Regions from separate parts of the Homo sapiens genome. Here all the other regions are linked to region 5. Evidence: promoter capture Hi-C in 16 types of primary human blood cells and fetal thymus (Javierre and others, 2016). All regions are on one chromosome and are shown on one strand. The core of a region is centred on a gene start or on the middle of the fragment in contact, and the rest is flanking DNA. Distances in the headings are between cores, read along the strand shown.

Region 1 (3,384 bases), core at 256-2,755, 450 kb after region 5:
ATAATCTCAGCACTTTGGGACCCTGAGGTGGGAGGATCTCTTGAGCCCAGGTTTGAGACCAGCCTGGGTAACATAGTGAGACCCCATCTCTGCATAAAATAAAATTAAAATTAAAAAACTTTATTTGAAAATATGGATAAACAAAGATAAATCATTTTTTACTGAGTTAACAAGCTCTGTAAATTTCCAAAGGAAGCCTATAGCATTTCCCAAGCATGTTTGATTGATTAAGATATCTTCCTTTAGGCAGGGCTCGGTGACTCACACCTGTAATCCCAGCACTTTGGGAGGCCGAGGCAGGCAGATCACAAGGTCAGGGGATCGAGACCATCCTGGATAACACAGTGAAACCCCGTCTCTACTGAAAATACAAAAAATTAGCTGGGCGTGGTTGCAGGCACCTGTAGTCCCAGCTACTCGGGAGGCTGAGGCAGGAGAATGGCGTGAACCCAGGCGGCGGAGCTTGCAGTGAGCCGAGGTTGCGAGACTGCACTCCAGCCTGGGTGACAGAGTGAGACTCTGTCTCAAAAAAAAAAAAAAAAAGATATCTTCCTTTCAGAGCATACCTCTCGGTCTCCCAAAACAATGATGGGCATAAAATCTACTTAAGAATTGATGCTGTAGTATTCACCCAATTTTCTTGATAAAGGAGAGATCCAAGTTCAGACTGAATTTCTTTTCCCATTTACCCAAAACATAAAATCTTCACCAGGATGCATTGAAATATCAGACTCTGTTAATATTTTTTATATTTTTCAATATGTTTTGTTGAAACACAGTTCAGCTCTTTTGATCATCCTTTCTCATCTCAGAAAAATATTAGTTTATGCCTTCGATTGTTACTTCCTTTCCATTTTTAAGGTGGCTTCCTGGTTTGTTCTTCAGGAATTGTCATCCTTCCTTTTTATTAATTCCATCTCTTTGGCCTGTTGCATGGCATCCTAGAAGCTTTTCCTGCGTTCACTCCCTCCATCGCTGATTTTATTTTCCACAATGTCAGGTTCCTAACCACTTTCAACACATATTGAAACACATAGGCAAACAGTGAAAAGTATGTCTGTCTTCCAAATTTGCCCCTGTAGGTAAGAATTGTTACCAGTCTCTTAGAATCTTTCTAGAGATAATATATACACAAATGTGTGCACACACAGGCACACATCTACATATTTATCTCTTTATATGTGTTTAGTGGCAAATCCCTCTGTTGTTGGGGATGGCAATATGTCTGAAGATATATGTACATTTTCCAAACTCCTCCAGCCTCATGGTGTCAGTTATGACACTTATGGATCCAAATAACAGAAAGTCCAACTCAAAATAGTGTATAAGGACATGTATTCTTTTCCATGACAAAAATGGCAGCTCCAGGGCTGCCATTGATTAAGCACTTCAACACAATCATCAAGAACCCAGAATCCTTCCATCTTTTTATTCTGCCAGCCCCGGCATGTTAACCTGTCAATCTGGGTTGCCTCATGGTCCCAAGATGGCTGCAGGTGTTCCAAGCATTACATCAGAAACAATCATTTCTAGAAGTAGAAAACTTACTATTTTTTCCTTGTGACTTTTTTGAAGAATGATAAAAAATTCCCAGAAGCCCCCAACAGACATGGGGGTGGTTTCCCCCATGCTGTTCTCATGATAGTGAGTGAGTTCTCATGAGATCTGATGATCTCTTCCCCACTTCACTCGGCACTTCTTGGCACCATGTGAAGACGGATGTGTTTGCTTCCCCTTCTGCCATGATTGTAAGTTTCCTGAGGCCTCCTCAGCCATGCTGAACTGTGAGTCAATTAAACCTCTTTCCTTTATAAATTACCCAGTCTCAGGTATGTCTTTATTAGCAGCATGAGAACTGACTAATACAAGAGGTGACATCAGCAAAAATGGGAGCATAAGGACCTCTGAAAATTCTCTCCTCCATAAAAGCAATGAGAAAACTGGCCGAAAAAAATGGTCAGAATCAACTTTTTTAGAACTCTGAAATTTAATCAGAGTTCATTATTAACAGAGCACTTATTCAAGAAAAATGACTGAATCTCATTAAAAACAGCAAGCTTTGTGGCATTTTAACTTGCCCCTTCCTATTTTCCACTCCCTCGCTCCTTAATTGCCTTAAAAAAGAACAGCCTAAAAGGAAAAAAAAAAAAAAAAAAAAAAAGAACATCCTAGGCCAGGCACGGTGGCTCATAACTGTAATCCCAGAACTTTGGGATGCCAAGGCGGGTGGATCACTTGAGGTCAGGAGTTCAAGACCAGCCTGGCAAACATGGTGAAACCCCATCTCTACTAAAAATACAAAAATTAGCTGGGCATGGTGGCACATGCCCAGCTACTCAGGAGGCTGAGGCAGAAAAATCACTTGAACATGGGAAGCAGAAGTTGCAGTGAGCCGAGATCATGCCACTGCATTCCAGCCTGTGTGACAGAGCAAGACTCCACCTCAAAAGAAAAAGAACAGCCTATACTTACAGTGCAAAGTAGCATCCTGGCAGCCACCGGACAGAGCAAAACAGGGCTGGAACACTTTCAAAGTCTCAATCCTAAAGAATTGTCATTATTTGACATGTCTGGTAATTCCCTGGAAGATCCCACTTGCAAGACTCTCTTTATTTTAATTTTTTTTAACCTGACTCAGTACTTTCTCAGGGTGAAAAGGCTTTTTCCCCTTGGGGACATTGAAAACAATTAAAGACAAATGTTTAACTTCACACTACGTAAGGTGGTGGATAACAGTTGGAGCAAACATTAGACTAACCAAAAAGGAGGAGCTGGGGAATGGGATGTCCATGGGGGCTTTGAAAATCTCTGACATATTTCCAGGAACCTAAAAGGTCACATGCATGCTCAGGGCTGTGCACATGTTCAGGAAAGGCCTGAGGAGGCCCTCAGCTCTCACCTCTGGCTGAATTTGAGGACCTGTACAAGCAAGTGAAGGCTGAGAAAGGCATGTCACTTGCCTGGCTGAGTGTTGAAAGTGTTTCCCAACACTCACATGGAGGCCCCTTGGCAAAGACTGGGAGACTTACTGTTTTCAGACGCATAAGGAATCTCTGTCCAGTCATCATCTGACCACTAAACTCACCAAGCAGAGACTTCAGTGACCACACATGACACAGAATACAGACTACAATATTAGTCCAGAAAAGTCATTAAACAGACAGCAACAAGATCTACACCATAAGCAACAACAACAAACAAGTGATTTTTAAAAACACAGCTAGTAAACTAGTAGTATAAGGTAATTTCCTTAAGCTAATCAGTAACCTGATTTCTGAAGTTGCCACACTATATTATTTTATACATATAGATTTAAACAAAAAAGGAAACATGCAAATAAATAAGAAAATATGATCCATACACAGGGAATAAAGCAATCAATAG
Region 2 (3,079 bases), core at 196-2,695, 380 kb before region 5:
TCACCTCAGCCTCCTGAATAGCTGGGACCACAAGCATGTGCCACCACACCCAGCTAATTTTAAAATTTTTTGTAGAGACAGGATCTCTTAAATCCCCATAAGTTAGTACAGCCATCTATGTGCCAGGCAGTTAATAAATATATATCTAACAAATGAATGACTGTAAAGTCATTTCTGTTTTTGTTTTAAAGAAAAGTTTCTTATGATACAATGAATGATTTATGGAATGAGATTCGAACTAGAGTGAATGACATTCCTCTGAGATTCCTTTGAGTAACTGTGAGAGCAATAACTAGAGCTTCATCTCTTGCCAGTCCCTTTTATTTCTCAGAGCTGCACTGGGTGGTAGGACATACTTAAGACACATAAAGTATCTAGTTTGGTTCTTAATTACCCTCCTGTTTTTGCTGTTGTTGTATTTGAAACAGGCTCTGGCTCTGTCACCCAGGCTGGAGTGCAGTGGTGCAATCTCAGCTCGCTGCCTCTTCACCTCCTGGGCTCAAGCCATCCTCCCAGCTTAGCGTCCCAAGTAGCCGGGACTGCAGGCACATGCCACCACGCCCGGCTAATTTTTGTATTTTTTGTAGAGACGAGGTTTCACCATGTTGCTCAGGCTGGTCTCAAACTCCTGAACTCAAGTGATCCGCCTGCCTCAGCCTCCCACATTGCTGGGATTACAGGTGCGAGCTCTCCTCCCTGTTTTAAAGTGTTTGAGACTGGGCTTGATGGCTTATACCTGTAATCCCAGCACTTTGGGAGGCAGAGGTGGAAGGACTCCCTTGAGCCCAGGAGTTGGAGACCACCCTGGGCAACATAGTGAGACCTCGTCTCTACAGAAAAATTTAAAAATTAGCTGGGCATGGTGACGTATACTTGTAGTCCCAGCTACTTGAGAGGATGAGGCAAGAGAATTGCTTGAGCCCAGGAGTTCGAGGCTGCAATGAGCTGTAATTGCACCACTGCACTCCAGCCTGGGTGATAGAGCAAGACTCCGTCTCTAAAATCATAAAAATTAGGCCGGGCGCGGTGGCTCACGCCTGTAATGCCAGCACTTTGGGAGGCCGAGGCGGGCGGATCACCTGAGGTCAGGAGTTCAAGCCCAGCCAGGTCAACAAGGTGAAACCCTGTCTCTACTAAAAATACCAAAAAAATTAGCTGGGTGTAGTGGCGGGCACCTGTAACCCCAGCTGCTCAGGAGGCTGAGACAGGAGAATCACTTGAATCCAGGAGGCAGAGGTTGCAGTGAGCCAAGATCACGCCATTGCTCTCTAGCCTGGGCAACAAGAACGAAACTCCATCTCAAAACAAACAAACAAAAACATAAAAATTACAAATAATTAATTAAATGTTTGAACCCAGGTATTTGCATTAATGTTCTTCGTTGTCTTTTTCATCTCTATTTCTCTTCCAGTTTAAGAAAACCCCTCCTAAGATCCCTTATAAGGCCATCGCACTTGCCACTGTGCTGTTTTTGATTGGCGCCTTTCTCATTATTATAGGCTCCCTCCTGCTGTCAGGCTACATCAGCAAAGGGGTAAGCTGACGGGCATGTGGGAATAAGTTGTGAGATTTTTAAAATGTTAGCCAAGGCTCTAGTGTGCGTGTGTGTGTGTGTGTGTGTGTGTGTGTGTGTGTGTGTGTGTTTGTCCGTCCCAGTGGTCTGTTTTTTTTGAGACAGGGTCTTGCTCTGTCATCCAAGCTAGAGTGCAGTGGCACAACCTTTACCTCCCTGGGCTCAAGCGATCCTCTCACCTCAGCCTCCCGAGTAGCTGGGACTACACGTGTGTGCCACCACACCCAGCTAATTTTATTTTTTATTTACTTATTTTTGTTTGTTTTATTTTGTGTAGAGACAGGGTTTCACTATGTTGCCCAGGCTGATCTCTAACTCCTGAGGTCAAGCAGTCTGCCTGCCTCAGCCTTCCAAAGTGCTGGGATTGCAGGTGTGAACCATTGCCCCTGGCCAATTTTTTTTCCAATTTTTATGGGTACATAGTAGGTGTATATACTTAGGGGATACATGAGGTATTTTGATACAGCCATGCATTCATAATAATCACATCAGGCTAAATGGGGTATCCATCCCCTCAAGCATTCATCATTTGTATTACATTCCAATTATACTTTTATTTATTTATTTATTTTGAGACAGAGTCAGGCTGGAGTGCAGTGGCATAATATCGGCTAACTGCAACCTCCGCCTCCCAGGTTCATGCTATTCTTGTGCCTCAGCCTCCCGAGTAGCTGGAATTACAGACGTGCGCCACCGCACCCGGCTAATGTTGGTATTTTTAGTAGAGATGGGGTTTCGCCATGTTGCCCAGGCTGGCCTCCCAAAGTGTTGGGATTACAGGCATGAACCACTGTGCCTGGCCTATTTTTAGTTATATATATACATATACACATACATACATACATACATATATATATATTTTGGAGACAGAGTCTTGTTCTGTCACCCAGGCTGGAGTGCAGTGGCAGGATCTCAGCTCACTGCAAACTCCGGCTCGTGGGTTCAAGTGATTCTCCTGCCTCAGCCTCCTGAGTTAGCTGGGACTATGGTGGCAAGCCAGCACACTTGGCTTATTTTTGTATTTTTAGTAGAGATGGGTTTTTGCCATGTTGGCCAGGCTGGTCATGAACTCCTGACCTCAAGCGGCCTGCCCGCGTGGGCCTCCTAAAGTGCTGGGATTACAGGCGTGAGCTACCACGTCCAGCCTTAGTTATTATATTTTTAAATGTACAATAAATTATTCTCTAGTCACTTTGTGCTATCAAATACTAGAGCTTATTCATTCTATGTAACTATATTTTGTACCCGTTAACCTTCCCCATTCCCCCCTACCTTTCCCAGCCTTTGGTAACCATCATTCTACAATATCCATGAGTTCAATTGTTTTAATTTTTAGTTCCCGCAAATGAGTGAGAACATGGAAAGTGTGTCTTTCTGTGCCTGGCTTAATTTCACTTAACATAACGTTCTCCAGTTTCATCCATGTTGTTGCAAGTGACAGGATCTCATTCTTTTTAGTGGCTGAATAGTACTCCATTGCATATATGTACCATATTTTCTTTATTC
Region 3 (3,178 bases), core at 46-2,545, 410 kb before region 5:
TGTCCGTTGCGTCCAGTCATCAAAAAGTTACAGGCTGCATTAGGGGAAGCCGTGAGCCTGGTGTAAGGCAACAGGGATTGGTGGGAACCGATGATCCTCAGCTCCAGCCAACCATTGAGCAGGTGACAAAGTGATGGTGGACCCTCCAATTATCTAAGACAGGCAAGAAATTTAGATTGTTAGGAGAAACTTTCTGATTTTTAAGGCAATATGTGGGCCAAAGAAAACATCTACAGGTCACTCATGGGCAATCCCGAGTGAACCAGGCTCCCTCAGTCTGGTCCAGGCTCCCTCAGTCCCTTCTACACATCACTGTCTGATCAGTTTCCCAAACACAGGGCTCCTGATCACTGCTATCTCGGAAAGCACAACTACTGCTACAAAGTCCTATACTGCCATTCAACCTCCACAGTAATAAAACCAATCCCTACCTTCCTTAACTCCCCTACACAGATCTTTCACTTCACCCAAAGGAGTCCACTCCCCCACCCGTCACCCCCGCCACTGTCCCCGCCAAGATGGCCTCCTTCCTACTCTCCTCCCCTACCCACCAGAGCCCACACGGTGCAGGAAACAACCCATCAACCGGGAGGACGCCCTCCAACACCTGCTGATGACGGACTGGCTCACTGGGTAACACCCCTTTGCTCAAAGCCGATGATTTCATGCCCAAGAAGGGATTTACATCTCCCAGGAGGCAAATGCTATGGCCTTGTCCTGATTCCCCCACCCCCCAAAATAATAACATTGTAAAAGGGAACGGAGAGCCTAAGTTGCGCTCAGAGGAGCCGCCTCCCTAAGAAGGCTCTGCATATCTTCACCTCCAGGAAGGCCTCACGGAGTTGGGGGAGAGGGGAGTCCCCGCAGCCAGCCCAGCGAGGCAGGAGGCCGTGCGCCACTCCCGAGAAGCTCCTTCCTGCGCCCCGGGGGAGCCACTTCAGTCAGACCCTGAGCCGGGACCCCGACCCGCCGACCCCTGACGCGCGCGCCGCGAAGGCCGGGCACCCGAGGGCCCTTCGCGCTACCCGGGCCCGGGGCCGCCGTCGGCTGCGACAAAGGGTCAGAGAACAAGACGACCCCTCTGCGCGCGTCCCCCGCAGGCCTCCCGGATGCGCCGCTGTCCCGGCCGCGCCCACCCCGACGCTGCCGCTACCTTGTCCTCGGGTGGCGCAACCGGCTCATGGGCCACCCTCTGCCTCAGCTCTGTCATCCTGGGAAAATCGGCCCGACGTCGCCGCGAGCTAGCAGCGAAGCCGCCGGAGCAGGCAGCTCGGCGCGGGCACGCGCGGACTCCCACGGCCGGCCCCGCCCCGCCCGGGAGGCGCGCGGCTCTGAGCGGCTCACAGTTCCCTTAGCAGCCCAGCAGCCAGCCCTGGAGCTCGGCCCCACCCAGTGCCGTCACCGCCCTTTCACCCGGGCCGAGCGGGGTCAGCCTTCCCTAGCCCCGACCCGAGAGCTCCCTCTCCCGGGAGCAGGGCTCGGAGCGAGTGCGCACGCGCAGCGCCACCATCACGGTCCGGAATATCCACCAATGGCGCAAATACGCCAGGGAGGCAGGGCGACGGGGGCGGGGCGGGGCGGAGCAGAGTCGAGAGGCGCGCATTGGACGGCAGCGTCAGGGGCGGGAAAAGGCGTGCGTTTCAGTGTGCGATTAGCCAATGGGAGCTCCCGCTTAACCGCGGATGGCCGGAGCTGGCGCCCTGGTTCTGGAGGTAACCGGTTACTGAGGGCGAGAAGCGCCACCCGGAGGCTCTAGCCTGACAAATGCTTGCTGACCTGGGCCAGAGCTCTTCCCTTACGCAAGTAAGTAGACGTTATTTAGGTCGAATGGAAAGGCCAGGTGAGCCGACCTGGTTAAGAGCATTTTATCACTTATCACATGATGAGAAATGAAACCCACGCTTCAGTCTGCTTTGCTTTGCCAAGCGGTCGCTAGTACTTGTTAAGCACTAATTGTATACTAGGCACTGAGCTGAGTAATCGCTTTAGTTGGCTTATCTCGTTTAATCCACACATGGCTTGGAAGTGGGTATGATTTGAATTTTACAGTTAAGATCTTCCTCAGTGGTTTGTTTGTTTGTTCGTTTGTTTGTTTGTTTTGTGACGGAGTCTCGCTCTGTCGCCCAGGCTGGAGTGCAGTGGCATGATCTCGACTCACTGCAACCTCTGCCTCCCGGGCGCAAACAATTCCAAGGTGCGCGCCACCACGCCCGGCTAACTTTTGTATTTTTAGTAGAGACGGGGTTTCACCATATTGGTCAGGCTGGTCTCGAACTCCTGACCTCAGGTGATCCGTCCGCCTCCGCCTTCCAAAGTGCTGGGATTACAGGCGTGAGCCACCGAGCCTGGCCCTTCCTCAGTTTTTCAAATTTGTCTTCTGGACTATGGAAAGACCTTTTTTGGGACAGAAGTGCTGTCTACTTTGTTTACTGTGCATCCTCTATGTCTTTGACACATCCATTGTAAGTACTTGTTGGATGGATTTAAAACTTTTAAAAGGACCTTAGCCAAGGTCTCCCAGCTAGAAAGTGCCTAGTAAGAATTAGAACACAAACAGGTTTGTTACCAGCCCACACTCTAACCACCATACTATACTGCCTGCCTGCATTTATTAATACTTGTGTTGCTCCAGCATTGCCTTTGGTGTTTCCTGTTCTTTCTATTCACTGCCCTGTAAGTGATGTAAAACACATATAACACTGCGTCCCCAACTTAAGCATACTGTAATCTCACAATGAGACACTTGCACACAAAAGAATTGCAATTTCGTTTTTTAAAAAAATATAATTTTACATTTTTCTTCTTTTCAATTTTTAAATTTTAATTAATTTATTTCTCCTTTTTTTAGAGACAGGGTCTCACTATGTTGCCCAGACTGGTCTTGAACTCCTGGGTTCAAGAGATCCTCCCGCCTAGGTCTCCCAAAGTGCTGGGATTACAGGCATGAGCTACCATGCCTGGCTAAAATTTCCTATTGGTAATTTTGACCTGAGCTGTGAGTTTTGGGGCAGGTAGTGAGAATTCTGAAAACAGCATTATATATTCCTGATTTCTATATGAGTATATGCCCGAGTAGCTTGGACTACAGGTGTGCAGCACCACACCCAGCTAACTTTTAAATTTTTGTGTAGCGATGAAGTCTCACTTTATTGCTTAGGCTGGTCTTAAACTCCTGGGC
Region 4 (3,088 bases), core at 326-2,825, 490 kb after region 5:
GGACCCCTGGGCAGGGCACCAACATCATCTGACTTCAAGCCTGAAAGGGACTTTGTGAGCAAAGACTTGAAGGAGTTGAAAGAGATGGCCAAGCAGCTCTTTAGGGTTTCTCCCAGGAGTTTGGGGTCATTCTGATACTCTCTCCAGCTAGCAAGCCCCACCCCAGCCCTTCTGAGCAGTCTGGATGGATGGACGTGGAGCTGAACCTGATGTGGCATGCCCTGCAAGGCGCCCTTGAGGACATACAGGCCAGCAAATGCCACACGGCCTGGTGTAAGCAGAATGAAGCATGCTCCGAGCACGCACACTCCAGAAGCCGCTATCACCCCTCAAACCCCAGTGGAGCAGGCAATCACAGGAACACCCTTGGAGAAGGTTCTAGGCTGAGTTGAGGCTGAGCTCCAGGGGAAATGCCCCCTATGGAGAGAGGAGGAGGACTAGCCTCCTCGCCAGACCAGCCTTGTGAAAACCCAGAGGCTGCCGGGCGCAGTGGCGAATGCCTGTAATCCCAGCATTTTAGGAAGCCGAGGCGGGTGGATCACCTGAGGTCAGGAGTTTAAGACCAACCTGGCCAACATGGCGAAGCCCCGTCTCTACTAAAAATACAGAAAATTAGCCAGGCGTGGTTGTGGGCGCCTGTATTCCCAGCTACTTGGGAGGCTGAGGCAGGAGAATTGCTTGAACCTGGGAGGCAGAGGTTGCAGTGAGCCAGGATCACGCCATTGCACTCCAGCCTGGGCAAGAGAGCGATACTCTGTCTCAAAAAAAAGAAAAAAGAAAAAGAAAACCCAGAGGTGGGATGGGCTCACTGCTGGTGGGGCAGCTGCCAGGAAGAACAAAGGGAGTGGCTGTGCCTCCTGAACCCAGCGCCCCTAGAAGCCCAAGGGGAGTTCTGTTTCTCTGTTTAAGTGATGTCAGGAGAGGACCAGGAGCTTTGGGACTAGACCAACTCAGATGCATGTCCTGACCCTAAGGGCTACTTGCTCTCTGGGTAACTAGAATCATTCTGCAAAGCGGGATGCCATGAGGATTCATCGAGAACTACATAAAAGGCCCAGCATGGTGCCTAGAAGGTACTGAACACTCGGAAAGCGTCAGCTCCCTTTTCCTTCCTCTGCACATTAGAGGCCACCTATTCAAGTGCCATTTACTTGTTCATTCAAGATATTTCAGAGTCCCTGCTTCGTTCGAGTCAGGCACTTGTGCTAGAGGCTGGGATAAAAAGAAAAACATATTGGACAGTGCAAAAACATGCCTTTTAGAAAATTTCTCAGGCCAGACATGGTATCTTACTCCTGGAATCCCAGCACTTTGGGAGGCTGAGGCAGGAGGATCATTTGAGGCCAGGGGTTCAAGACCAGCCTAGGAAACAGAGCAAGACCCTGTCTTTACAAAAATAATAATAATAATAATAATAATAATAACAATTAGCCAGGTGTAGTGGCACATGCCTGTAGTCCCAACTAATTGGGAGGCTGAGGCAAGAGGCTCACTTGAGCCCAGGAGTTCGGTGAGCCATGATTGCACCACTGCACTCCAACCTGGGTGACAGCAAGACCCAGTCTCTAAAAACAGAAAGAGAGAAAGAAAGAAAGAAAAGAAAAGAAAAGAGAGAGAGAGAGAGAGAAAGAAAGAAAGAAAGAAAGAAAGAAAAAGAAAGAAAGAGAAAGAGAAAAGAAAGCAAAGAAGGAAAGAAAGAGTCCCATACCTGCCTTCAAGAAACCAAGAGTCACATAGAGTAGATGGAGCAATAGCAAATTGTATGAACCTGTAGTTGCACGGGAAAGGACAGCTGAGCCAGGCTGGGTGGGGAGACACCTGACCTGGGGCTGCAGGGACTGGGGGAGGAGGCTCCTGGGAGCAGCAAGTCCTGGCAGAAAGGCAGAAGAAGCCCAGCTATGTGGGAGGATCTGCTTGAGGCTTAACGTGGCTGAATTTGGAGGAAGGCAGGACAAAGACAGCACTGGCCCTAGAAACGTTGTGTTTCCTTGTGAGCAGCACCATGTTTCGATTGATTCCTCTGAGCCACAGGAAGCCACTGACAGTTTTCAGAAGGGAAAGGAGAGAAACCAAGTTTTAAGGAAAAGTCTCCCAGCAGCTGTGTGCAGAGTGGAGAGGATATGGGTTGAGGCCAGGGGCTGTGAGGCCAGGGGCTGTCAGGGGCTGCTGCCGCCACCTAAGCAAAATGAAATGACAGAGCAAGCCAAGGCTTAACAAACACAGTGAAGTGCAGGGGACCTGCTAAAAAGGACATCTACCGCACAGGACGTGGTGACCAGTTGGATGTGTAGGATACAGAGGAGGGATTCATTCAGCAAACTCAGCAAGTGTTATGCACCTGCTGTGTGCTTGATATGCCTGTGAGGTCTTCTTGGCAATGGGAATGCAGCACCAAGCAAAACAGACCCTGGCCCCACCCCAGGGATGTTCATTGCAGGGAGATAGATGATAGACAAATGCATCATGACTCAAATAGGACAGAAGGTGACAAGTACCATGAGGCATAACAGAGCAAGCTGAGCCAGACAGGGAGCACAGGGTTAGGGGATATTGCAATTGTGAATACGAAGTCAGTGTGATCTCATCACAAAGGTGAGGGTGTGAGCCACATGGATATTGGAGGAAGAAAATTCTGGGGAAAAAGTGCAAAGGGCCAAGGTGGGTGTGCATCTGGCATGTCCAAAAAGCAACAGGGAAGGCAATGTGGCTGGAACAGAGTAGGCGAGGGAAGGAGAGGAGAGGAGAGATTTGGGGGGACATGTTGAGCTGTGTAGGTCATAGGCTCTTGCTAGGAGGAGGCAGAGGAGCTGTTGGAGGGTTCTGAGCAGAGGAGTGACGTGACCAGTCTTTTCAGTCTTTCTAGCTGCCAGGGTGAGAAAAGATTCAGGGGGCAGGGGCACAAGCAGTGAGGGGGCTGCTGGATTCATCAAGGCAAGTGATGATGGTGTCTCAGACAGGGTGGGAGGGCGCATTGAGGGTGGGTGGTTGAGTTCCAACCTCGTCTCCTTCCTCTCTGCCCTCAATCACTGCATTCTGTCCACACCAACCTCGTCATCGTTCTACAAACATACCGGAGCCACCTCAGGGC
Region 5 (3,458 bases), core at 810-3,309:
ACACACACACACACACACACACACACACATATTTTAGAGACAGGATCTCACTCTGTTGCCCAGGCTGGAGTGCAGTGGCATGATCATAGCTCATTGCAGCCCTGAACTCCTGGGCTCAAGCAATCCTCTTGCCTCAGCCTCCGGAGTAGCTGGGACTACAGGCACACACTACCACACCCAGCTAATTTTTAAATACATGTTGTAGAAACGGGGTCTCACTATGTTGCCCAGGCTCAAGTGATCCTCCCACCTCAGCCTCCCAAAGTGCTGAGATTACAGGCACGAGCCACTGTGCCGACTTTAGATTGTACTTTCAATCTCCCCTCTTTGTTCTTTATTGCTCTGAGCTGGCACTGTCTTGGGGGCATTCTGCCATCCATTCTGAGGAATTCACTGGCTGCTGATCCTAAAGGGCTTTGCAGTAATGAGAGAGAGAGGAGGAGGAAGGAAGGGAAAGATGGAAACGTAGCAAAGGGACCCCTGCCTCCCCTATGTCCAGGGGTCAAGTGTGCTCCAGGCATCCTTTCCAATCTCACCCCTGGGGGACAGTGTGACCATCTGCTTATCCTACTGGCTTTTTATTGCATACTTTCTTCATGCCTGCCACCGTGTTAAGCTCTTCTCTGACATTGCCTAACTTAATTCTCACATAGAGTAGGTACATTATTATCCCCATGTTATAAATGTTGTCCTGGGATTCAGAGAAGTTAAGTAATTTGCCCAAGGCTGCACAGCGGGGAGGTGGCAGACCTGCACTGGGCTCTGTCTAATGCTGCACTGCATGTGTCCACTAGCCATGCCCCACTGCCCATCTGGGTTTCAGGAGAAGACAGTGCTCACACACTGTGCTTTTCACTCACTGGGTATGATGCCCCCTGAGCTGGGCAAAGGGCAAAGGGCAGGGCCCTTGAGGAATTTCGGAGAAAACGAGATGAAAGGGAAGACAGGAGGGCCTGGGGGAACACCAGGAGGGTCCCGGGTCAAGGTGGCCCTGGGACATCCGAAGGGCTGCCACTGATGTCATGGAAAAGCCCCTCACCCCACACCTTAAGGTTGCCTGTCACATTCGGCTCCTGAATCTACAATAGCCATCAAGGAAATCCACTTCCCAAGGCCGACTGTCAGGGCATTCTAGCACCTGGGTCTTTGCCTGTGTGGATTAGGGAAATGGAAGGAGTTCCCATACCGGAGCTTGCCTAAGCTGTCTCCTAGGCAAAGACTTACTGTGAGGCCATGGGGCCCCAGAGCTGGAGGAGGCTGACAGGGAGCTTGTTTCGCCCCTCACACACCCTCCACCACCCTGCTGCAGCTTCCCTAAAAGTGGCTAATGTTCCTCTGATAAAATGTTCAACTCTGATGCCACATTGCTCCTTATATTAAAAAAAAAAGGCAAAACACAGCTGAAGTGATCTCTAGAAGCACATCCAGTCATCTCTAGAAGCCTGCAAAGAGGCCTCACTGACCTTTCCTTGCTTGTAGACATCGCCTCGTCTTTGTCCCAGGGTGGCTATGAGCATCTGGACCCCCTCACCCCACTCTCTCTGCCTCCTGAGCACAGTGAACTCAGACTGACTTTCTCCAAAGAGATCCAAGCATGAAGCAAATATTCATTAGTCTCCTAAATAGGGCCATACTCCACATCATTCCTTTTTTAAGGAGAAATCTTAAATAAGATTAATGGCATAATAGATCATTTCAGGTGAGTCAAATAAAAAAAATAAAAGCACAGCATTCTTGAGAAAGAGATTAGTTTTCATAGGCAGAAGCTTAAAGGCAAAACAAAATCCCAACCCACAAACCCTAAAGTAGCATTTTATTATAGCACCAACTTAGAGAAAGGCAAGCCCAGTGATGACTGGGTATCCTCGCAAGTCTACCCTGAACTTGGGACCCATCCCCAGGTGTGGGAGTAAAGAAATCATTGCATGATTTTCAATCTGGGATCGAGCCTTGATAAGAAACCAGCAGTCCTGACCACAGAAGTGGCCCCCCACGTACCTTGGCTCTCTCTGGAGTGTGCCTCTGGAGCCTCGAGCTGCACAGTCCCCCAGCACACCCTCTTGGCAGCCAGGTCCGCCCAGCTATATAGGAGCTGCCGGGGGAGGTGGCATTCCTGCAGGTCTCCAAATAAGGCAGCCCTTCCCTCCCCGGCAGACCAATCAGGGCTTCCTGGACCACTCCTTCATCCTGAGAAGGATGGACCTTCTCATCACACTTTACTAAGGAAACCACGTGAAAATCTTGATGAAGTTCAGCAAGGCTTCAGAGGTGCCTTTTAGAATTGGAATGAGATGTGTTAGAAGGAAAATGCTTTTCCCATCAATATCTATGACAGATGTGGCTTCAACAAGCCTCGCTGGACATGCATAGTGTCCTGTACCTAAAGGCCGGCCTTGGACAGCAAAGCAGTCTTTGCTGACAGCCTCTGTGGGGAGGTTCAGCTCAAAAAGAGGGCAAGCGTTCACCTGGACCACCACGCCCTGAGGATGGGACCAACAGGGTGTGTGTGTGGTGGTGGGGGGGGGGGGCGCCGGGGGGCGGTTACACTTTCATCGGGTAGTGGGAAAACAGAACTGGTAGGTATGGGGTGGAAGACACGTGAGAAGACTTCCTGGCATGTTGGGCGAGGAATGCTTGAAGGACTGAATTAGCCCAAAGGCCAATAAGTTAAAGATCTGCGGGAACCCCGGGAGCAGAGACACATTGACACGCAGCCAGTCCCCTGGACAGGTGGTGCGGGCTGAGGGCGAGTTCTGCAGAGTGCCTTCTCCTCTACATGGTGTCCGAGCGCTGCGCAGAAGGGGCTGGAGGTGCATTCCTGGGCTTTCCAAAGCAAGAGACTCATTGGTATTGGGTGACCATTTTGGGCCTTATACAGAAGGGACTTGCTCAGGTGTCCCTGTTACAGTTAGTACTGCAAGGCAAAGTCAAAAGTGAATATGGGAGCAAGTATGGGGCCAGATTTTCCTGTAAACAGAATGCGATTTTTATGCTGAATGTGACCCCGTCAGTGTTCACGGTGGATTTGCGTCAGAGCAATTTTGCAAACCAAATTAAACGGTTGTTATCGAGAAGGACAGCAGATAGCGCCAGAGAGCTGACAAAGACCGCAGCCGGTCGGTGGGAAACCCGGGCTTCTGGGCTCTGGGTGGATTTGGGGCCTCCGGTTGGGCCTTTCTTTCTCCTCTGACTTTAACATTTGTTTCACTTCCCCACTTTTTTTTTTTTAAGAACTTTTCTATTTCCTTTCTAGAACCACAGACTTTTTGTGCTTCTGAATACACACAAAACAGAAACACAGTAGTGTAATCTTAGTACAGACTGTTTGCAAAATGGAGATGAAAAAATCAAAATCTCCTAATAGTTCAGTACCCAGAGACAAATGTCAGGACAATTTTGTTTCACATATAGATACTTAGGGCCACAGTGTTTAGAGCTAGAAAGGACTCAGAATTCTG

Evidence for each region. Contacts are between HindIII fragments. The CHiCAGO score rates a contact against its expected background, and 5 or more counts as called.
Region 1: a fragment that was not itself captured here is called in contact with the fragment with the promoter of PRND in region 5 in 1 of 17 cell types (M1 macrophages); the score reaches 5.2 in M1 macrophages.
Region 2: a fragment that was not itself captured here is called in contact with the fragment with the promoter of PRND in region 5 in 1 of 17 cell types (total B cells); the score reaches 6.9 in total B cells.
Region 3: a contact is called between the fragment with the promoter of CDS2 here and the fragment with the promoter of PRND in region 5, in 1 of 17 cell types (total B cells). The highest score is 5.1, in total B cells.
Region 4: a contact is called between a fragment that was not itself captured here and the fragment with the promoter of PRND in region 5, in 6 of 17 cell types (M1 macrophages, endothelial precursors, megakaryocytes and 3 more). The highest score is 11.6, in M1 macrophages.

Annotation. Positions count from the first base shown.
Region 1 is chr20:4,272,098-4,275,481 of GRCh38, reverse strand. No RefSeq gene overlaps it. Among named protein-coding and RNA genes, the nearest start is that of ADRA1D, 25 kb to the right of the region's middle. The HindIII fragment of the contact is 1,109 bases long and covers 951-2,059 here.
Region 2 is chr20:5,104,643-5,107,721 of GRCh38, reverse strand. TMEM230 (transmembrane protein 230) reads left to right here. Exons shown (of 4, transcript NM_001009925.2): 3 at 1,412-1,534. Among named protein-coding and RNA genes, the nearest start is that of TMEM230, 6.9 kb to the left of the region's middle. The HindIII fragment of the contact is 4,635 bases long and covers 1-3,079 here.
Region 3 is chr20:5,125,125-5,128,302 of GRCh38, reverse strand. CDS2 (CDP-diacylglycerol synthase 2) reads right to left here and starts at 1,295. Exons shown (of 13, transcript NM_003818.4): 1 at 1,154-1,295. The coding sequence starts at 1,210. It also overlaps a transcript of PCNA not described here. RefSeq lists enhancers at 457-546, 1,123-1,624 and a silencer at 887-1,806. The HindIII fragment of the contact is 13,373 bases long and covers 1-3,178 here.
Region 4 is chr20:4,229,604-4,232,691 of GRCh38, reverse strand. The region is part of intron 1 of ADRA1D (adrenoceptor alpha 1D); the gene reads left to right. Among named protein-coding and RNA genes, the nearest start is that of ADRA1D, 18 kb to the left of the region's middle. RefSeq lists an enhancer at 1-382. The HindIII fragment of the contact is 3,609 bases long and covers 1-3,088 here.
Region 5 is chr20:4,720,510-4,723,967 of GRCh38, reverse strand. It overlaps PRND (prion like protein doppel), which reads right to left and starts at 2,059. Exons shown (of 2, transcript NM_012409.4): 1 at 1,999-2,059. RefSeq lists an enhancer at 3,137-3,356. The HindIII fragment of the contact is 8,148 bases long and covers 1,769-3,458 here.